Linked DNA regions of Homo sapiens: region 2 is linked to region 1. Evidence: promoter capture Hi-C in 16 types of primary human blood cells and fetal thymus (Javierre and others, 2016). All regions are on one chromosome and are shown on one strand. The core of a region is centred on a gene start or on the middle of the fragment in contact, and the rest is flanking DNA. Distances in the headings are between cores, read along the strand shown. Region 1 holds the start of CBX6 (chromobox 6). Region 2 has its middle 7.5 kb from the start of APOBEC3B-AS1.

What was found. The method cuts DNA at HindIII sites, captures the fragments that hold promoters and counts their contacts. A CHiCAGO score of 5 or more calls a contact.
Region 2: a contact is called between a fragment that was not itself captured here and the fragment with the promoter of CBX6 in region 1, in 1 of 17 cell types (M0 macrophages). The highest score is 5.4, in M0 macrophages.

What each region holds. Positions count from the first base shown.
Region 1 is chr22:38,870,961-38,873,902 of GRCh38, forward strand. CBX6 (chromobox 6) reads right to left here and starts at 1,256. Exons shown (of 5, transcript NM_014292.5): 1 at 1,162-1,256; 2 at 942-985; 3 at 732-797; 4 at 520-586. The coding sequence starts at 1,230. RefSeq lists silencers at 878-927, 1,028-1,177, 1,208-1,467 and enhancers at 1,462-2,012, 2,013-2,562, 2,399-2,942. The HindIII fragment of the contact is 16,779 bases long and covers 1-2,187 here.
Region 2 is chr22:39,004,393-39,007,092 of GRCh38, forward strand. No RefSeq gene overlaps it. Among named protein-coding and RNA genes, the nearest start is that of APOBEC3B-AS1, 7.5 kb to the left of the region's middle. The HindIII fragment of the contact is 326 bases long and covers 1,161-1,486 here.

The sequences.
Region 1 (2,942 bases), core at 6-2,505:
ATTTGAGGTCAAATTCAAGTTGGATCCCCAAGAAAGGAGGGGAGCCATGAAGAACAAATCCTGAAAGACTGAACGGGGGAAGCTGGGGGCAGGGAGGCAGGTGGTCCCCCAAATCCTCTCCTTGTGCCCTGCCAGGAGGTGGGACCCCACTCACTCTCCCCCTGGGTTCCAACTCCCAGCACAGTCATAACAGCTCAAACAAATGCCCCCTTCCCATGGGCATCCCCCACCTGCCTCAGCCACCCCCTTTCCTGGAGCCCTAAAGGCATCCCCAGCCCCTGGTTTCAACAGGGAGGATTATCCCCAGTCCCAAAACCCTCTTGTTGAAGCTGATGCTGGCTGAGGCCTGCCATCAGGGGCTTCTGGGGGGGCTCACAACCACCCCCTGCCCAGCTGGGGCCCCTCTGAAAAGGCCGGCCCGCTTGGGCGGCCGCGTATCTGTCCCTCCCTTCCAGGCCCCGTGCTGTGCCGGGGCTGGGGGCCCGAGAGGGGGATGCTGCTGGGGCTGGGCCAGGTTACCTTCAGGAGGAAAGTTTTGGGTTTGGGTCCCCTCTTCTTGGGCCCATACAGCTCACGCTCCCTCTCCCTGCGGCCGAAAAACACCAGAGGTTAAAAAGAGCCCCTTCCCGGGCCCCACTCCGCGCTGCCCTCCCCGGCTCTCCCGCTTCCCCGCGCGGCGCCCCAGCCGAGCCTCGGCCTCGCAGCCCCTGCCAGCTTCCCCAACAACTCACTTTTGTTCGAAGGCTGCAATGAGCCGCGAGTCCAGGATGTTCTCCTCGGGCTCCCAAGTGCTGTACCTGCCGAGTCACAAACGCACAAAATCAGGATGAAGACCAGAGAGGGACAGGCACGCGGCGAGAGCAAGAGCGCGCACCCCCACCCCAGGCCCCGGTGCCCGCTGCCTCCCCTCCCGCGACGCCCCCGGACCCCGCGACACTCACTTGATCGCCCACCCCTTCCATTTCACCAGGTACTCGATGCGTCCCTGAAAAACAGAGGGGAGAAAAACGGGGGTGGGGGTGGGGAGGATGCGGGGACGCGAGGAGGCGGCGGCGCGGGGCTGGGCGAGGGAGCCGGGCTAGCGGGACCGCTTCGCCCCGAGGGCCCCCGGCCCCGGCCCCGGCTGCGGACAGCGGCGGCCCGCCCCGGGCGGCGGCTCACCTTTCGGATCCGCCGTTTGATGATGGATTCGGCCGCGAAGACCCGCTCGCCCACTGCAGACAGCTCCATCTTGCTCAGCGGCACCCACAGCCCATAATACTCCCTGCGCCCGCGGCCGGTGCGGCACCGCTCGCGCACGCGCCGCAGCGCCCAGGCCCCGGCGGGCGGGAGCGCGGCGGGGCGCGCGCTCGCGTTCCAGCTGCGGGCCGTCACGTGATCCTCGCGGCTGGCGCGCGGTTGCCAGGACCTCCCCCTCCCCCGGGGCGGTTGCTAGGGAAAGTCGGCGCTCGCGGGGCGGGGGCGCGCGCTGGCTCTTAAAGGGGCCGCGCGGGCGGAGGGAGCAATTGCCGGCCGACCCGATGGGTGCCCGGCTTGTGGGCACGCTGCGGCCTTACGCTTATCACCCCCCCTCACATCTTGCCGGCGCCCGATCGCTGACACCCTCTCCTTGCCTCTTAATCCCCACGCGAGTCTCGCCAGGCCCCGGGCGGAGAAGGGCTGTGGAGCCCGAGTCTCGCCGCCACCGCGCATCTCCCGCAGCAGCCTGCAAACAGTTAAATATGATGCAGCAGAAATGCAGTTGCTGTTGCCTTGCCAGGCCTTGCGGGAATTTCTTTAAAACATCGCCCCCCACCCATTATTTATGTATTCGTGGGAGGGTGGTTTTGTAACCAGTTCAGAAGAGTTAAAACAAAAACGCCACCGCAGGAAGGGGGTGTGCGGCGAATGGGGCCGAGGAAGGCCGGAGTGACCGTGGGCATCTGTCTGCGGCCGGGGTCTCGGGCGGCACCTGTCCTCGCCCAGGAGACCGGGGAGGATTCGGCGGGGCCGGTGTGGCAGTGGGGGAGGGAGAGGGACCGCGGGCAGGAACGGGCTCCCCGCACTCCGCCTTGGGCCCACAGCGGGTCATCATCTGGTCATTCGGCAGAAACCGCCTTCGCGGTCATATCTGTGTTTTCCGATTCCCAGCACCCCTCCCGGCCCCCCGACCTGGCCGCGTCCCTCTCCCCGCCCGCAGCTGCGCGAAGCTTCCGCCATTGCTCTGGGGAGCCCAGATCCCAGCTTCCCACTTGAGGAGGGGCGGGGGATCGAGCTGGGGCTGTCCAGGAACGGACACACAAAAAATAGCCCTGCCGCGCAAAACGCTCCACTTTTTAAATGTTGAAATTACTTGAACTTTATTTCCCATTATGTTAGTAGTCTTGTTCTTTGTAAAACAATTTTAAAAATACAGATAAAACAACTGTCCATAACCCCCATAAAACCATTGTTAACATCTTCACCAATCTTCCAGCCTCTGCTCTATGCGTACATAAACTCACGTACACCTATGTATGTATGTATATACATACACATACACATTGTCTGTAGATTTAATTTTTTAACAAAATGGGATCACGCTATTCACACTGTTCTGGAATCTGCTTTTCTCCCTTAATGCTATAAAGTGGACATCTTTCAGTGTCATTAAATACAGATTTCACCATCCTTCCAGTGACCACCTTGGGGCTGAGATGGGGTGGGGAGGAATGGGGATTGTGAAGAGTCAGGGTTGTGTCTTGCGAACATCAATGGCTCATTAGGAAAGATTTTTGCGTTTCTGTGCTACAATGCCAATTCTTGGGTTTCAAATCCACCATAGCAAAATGTTAGTCTTTTTCTCCCAGCAGATTTGTCCAATTATTACCTTGAGAGAAATCCCTCTCCTCACTTAAAATCAGTATGTTCCAGGGAAACAGCTATTTGCTGGCCAGCCCAAGGTGAGCTGCTGTGGTAAAAAT
Region 2 (2,700 bases), core at 74-2,573, 130 kb after region 1:
TTAAAAAGCATTATTCTCTGCTGGGTTCGGTGGCTCACACCTGTAATCCCAGCACTCTGGGAGGCCAAGATGGGCATATCACTTGAGGTCAGGAGTTGGAGACCAGCCTGGCCAACATGGTGAATCTCCGTCTCTACTAAAAATACAAAGATTAGCCGGGCGTGGTGGCAGCTGCCTCTAATCCCAGCTACTCGGGAGGCTGAGACAGGAGAATCGCTTGAGCCCAGGAGTGGGAGGTTGCAGTGAGCCGAGATCGTGCCATTGCACTCCAGCCTGGGTGACAACAATGAAACTCTGTCTCAAAAAAAAAAAAAAAGAAAAAAGCATTATTCTCCTACATCTCTCCAAAATTACTTAAAATATTTTAAGGGACAAATGGATATCGATTTCCAATGAGTTCAGGGTAGGCTGTGCTGCTAGACACGGTGGTGTCCGTATTTGAGCTCGATTCCCGTTCTTGCTAGGGTAGCACGTTATCGCTCCTAAATCATTCACGCGTTAAAGACAAAATCATAGTGTGAATTAGGCACACTTAGAACTCAATGATCTTTTTTTCTTTTTTTTGAGGCGGAGTCTCGCTCTGTTGCCCAGGCTGAAGTGCAGTGGCACGATCTCGGCTCACTGCAACCTCCGCCTCCTGGATTCAAGCAATTCTCCTGCCTCAGCCTCCAGAGTAGTGCTCTAGCAAATTAACTGAACCCAAAGAATGGGTCATGGGAACCTCAACTTGAAGCCTGTTGGTCAGACACTCCAGATGTCTGAGCTTTCTACTGGTGTCTAAAGCAGGGGCAGTTTTGGGGACTGGGCCCTCAACCTGTGAGATCTGACACCATCTCAAGGCAATGTTGGATGTGACTGAGAGGACACCTGGCTGGTGCCTGCTGAAGAATGGATTGCTTGTTTGTTGGTGGGAAGAAATCCCCCACATTTGGTCACAGAAGTCTTCTGTGTTGACTGTTGTTGTGTTGGTGCGAGAGCAGAGGAAAAACACGGCTTGAGTTTGTGTGTTTTTCTACACACTCAGTTTCCCAAGCCCTCTTAATTCCCAGCCGTTGCTTGTTGCCTGTTGCTGGGGTCTCCCGGCCAAAGCTGAATGCCTCTTCACAAGACCTTGTCGTGAGTCTTTCTGTGGTGTATCTGTCTGACCCTCACCCATCTGAAGCTTTCTGTAGGATGTTAGGTACATAATCTCTCTTTGACCATGGTTTTAACTCCCGGCCACCAATTCCAGGGCAGATGGAAAAGTCGTGCTTGGCCTTCTAGCACACTTACATAAATATTCCATAAAAGTAAGAATCACCAAAACTGACACAAAATGGAGAAAAATCACTCAGTTAGGTCGATCATCAATGAGGACACTGAAAAGGTAACCAATCCTCACCTAACCTCAGGCCTTGATGGTTTTACTGGCAATTTCTACCAAATTGTCAATGAACAGATCATTCCACATTACAGAGACTATTCCAGAGAAAAGAAAATGATGGGAAGCTTCCCAAATCATGACCGAGGTTTATCACAACCCTGATGCTACAACTGGGCAAAAATAGAAAACAATTTTTTAAAAACTATAATTCATGAGTAATTTCAGTCAATGAGACACAGCAGCCCAGGAACTGAAGAGTCCCTGACTAAAAAGGCATTAAATCTGGCCGGGTGCGGTGGCTCATGCCTGTAATCCCAGCACTTTGGGAGGCTGAGGCAGGCATATCACCTGAGGTCAGGAGTTCAAGACCAGCCTGGCCAACATGGTGAAACACTCCTCTCTACTAAAGATACAAAAATTGGCCGAGCGCGGTGTCTCATGCCTGTAATCCCAGCACTTTGGGAGGCCGAGGTCGGCAGATCACCTGAAGTCAGGAGTTCGAGACCAGCCTGGCCAACATGGTGAAACCTCATGTCAACTAAAGATACAAAAAATTAGCTGGGTGTGGTGGCATGTGCCTGTAATCCCAGCTACTAGGGAGGCTGGGGCAGGAGAATCTGTTAAACCTGGGAGGTGGAGGTTGCAGTGAGCCGAGATCACACCATTGCACTCCAGCCTGGGTGACAGGGCGAGACTCCATCTCAAAAAACAAAAACAAAAACAAAAAACAAAAATTAGCCAGGTGTGTTGGCACGCACCTGTAATCCCAGCTACTCAGGAGGTTGAGGCAGGAGAATCACTTGAACCCAGGAGGCAGAGGTTGCAGTGAGCTGAGATCGTGCCACTGAACTGCAGCCTGGGTGATGGAGCGAGACTCAGTCTCAAGAAAAAAAAAAAAAACAGAAAGGTATTTAATCTGCAGGCCCCAGAGCTGATGGCTTCCCGGAGCTGGGCAGGTCCACACTCCCTCAGCCTCAGGACCAAGTGTCCGTGTGCGTGAGTGACAAGGGGCCTCAGAAGCTACACGTGGGAGTCCTGAGACTTCCGCTCTGTGCTGTTACACACGTTGTCCCACCTGTCCTGTATCTTTTCTTAAAGCCAAGGAAATGCATACTGGGTGAAGCCTATCACGTCTCTTTTGATAGTCAATCCAAATCACAAGCCACTACTACTTGTCAAACAGAATGATATTGCAACTATATCAATAGATTAAAGGAGAAAAACCACATGACCATCTCAATCATAAAAAACAGAAAGCATATGCTATTAAAATAGCATCTTAGGACCAGGCACTAATCCCAGCATTTTGCCTGTAATCCCAGCATTTTGGGAGGCTA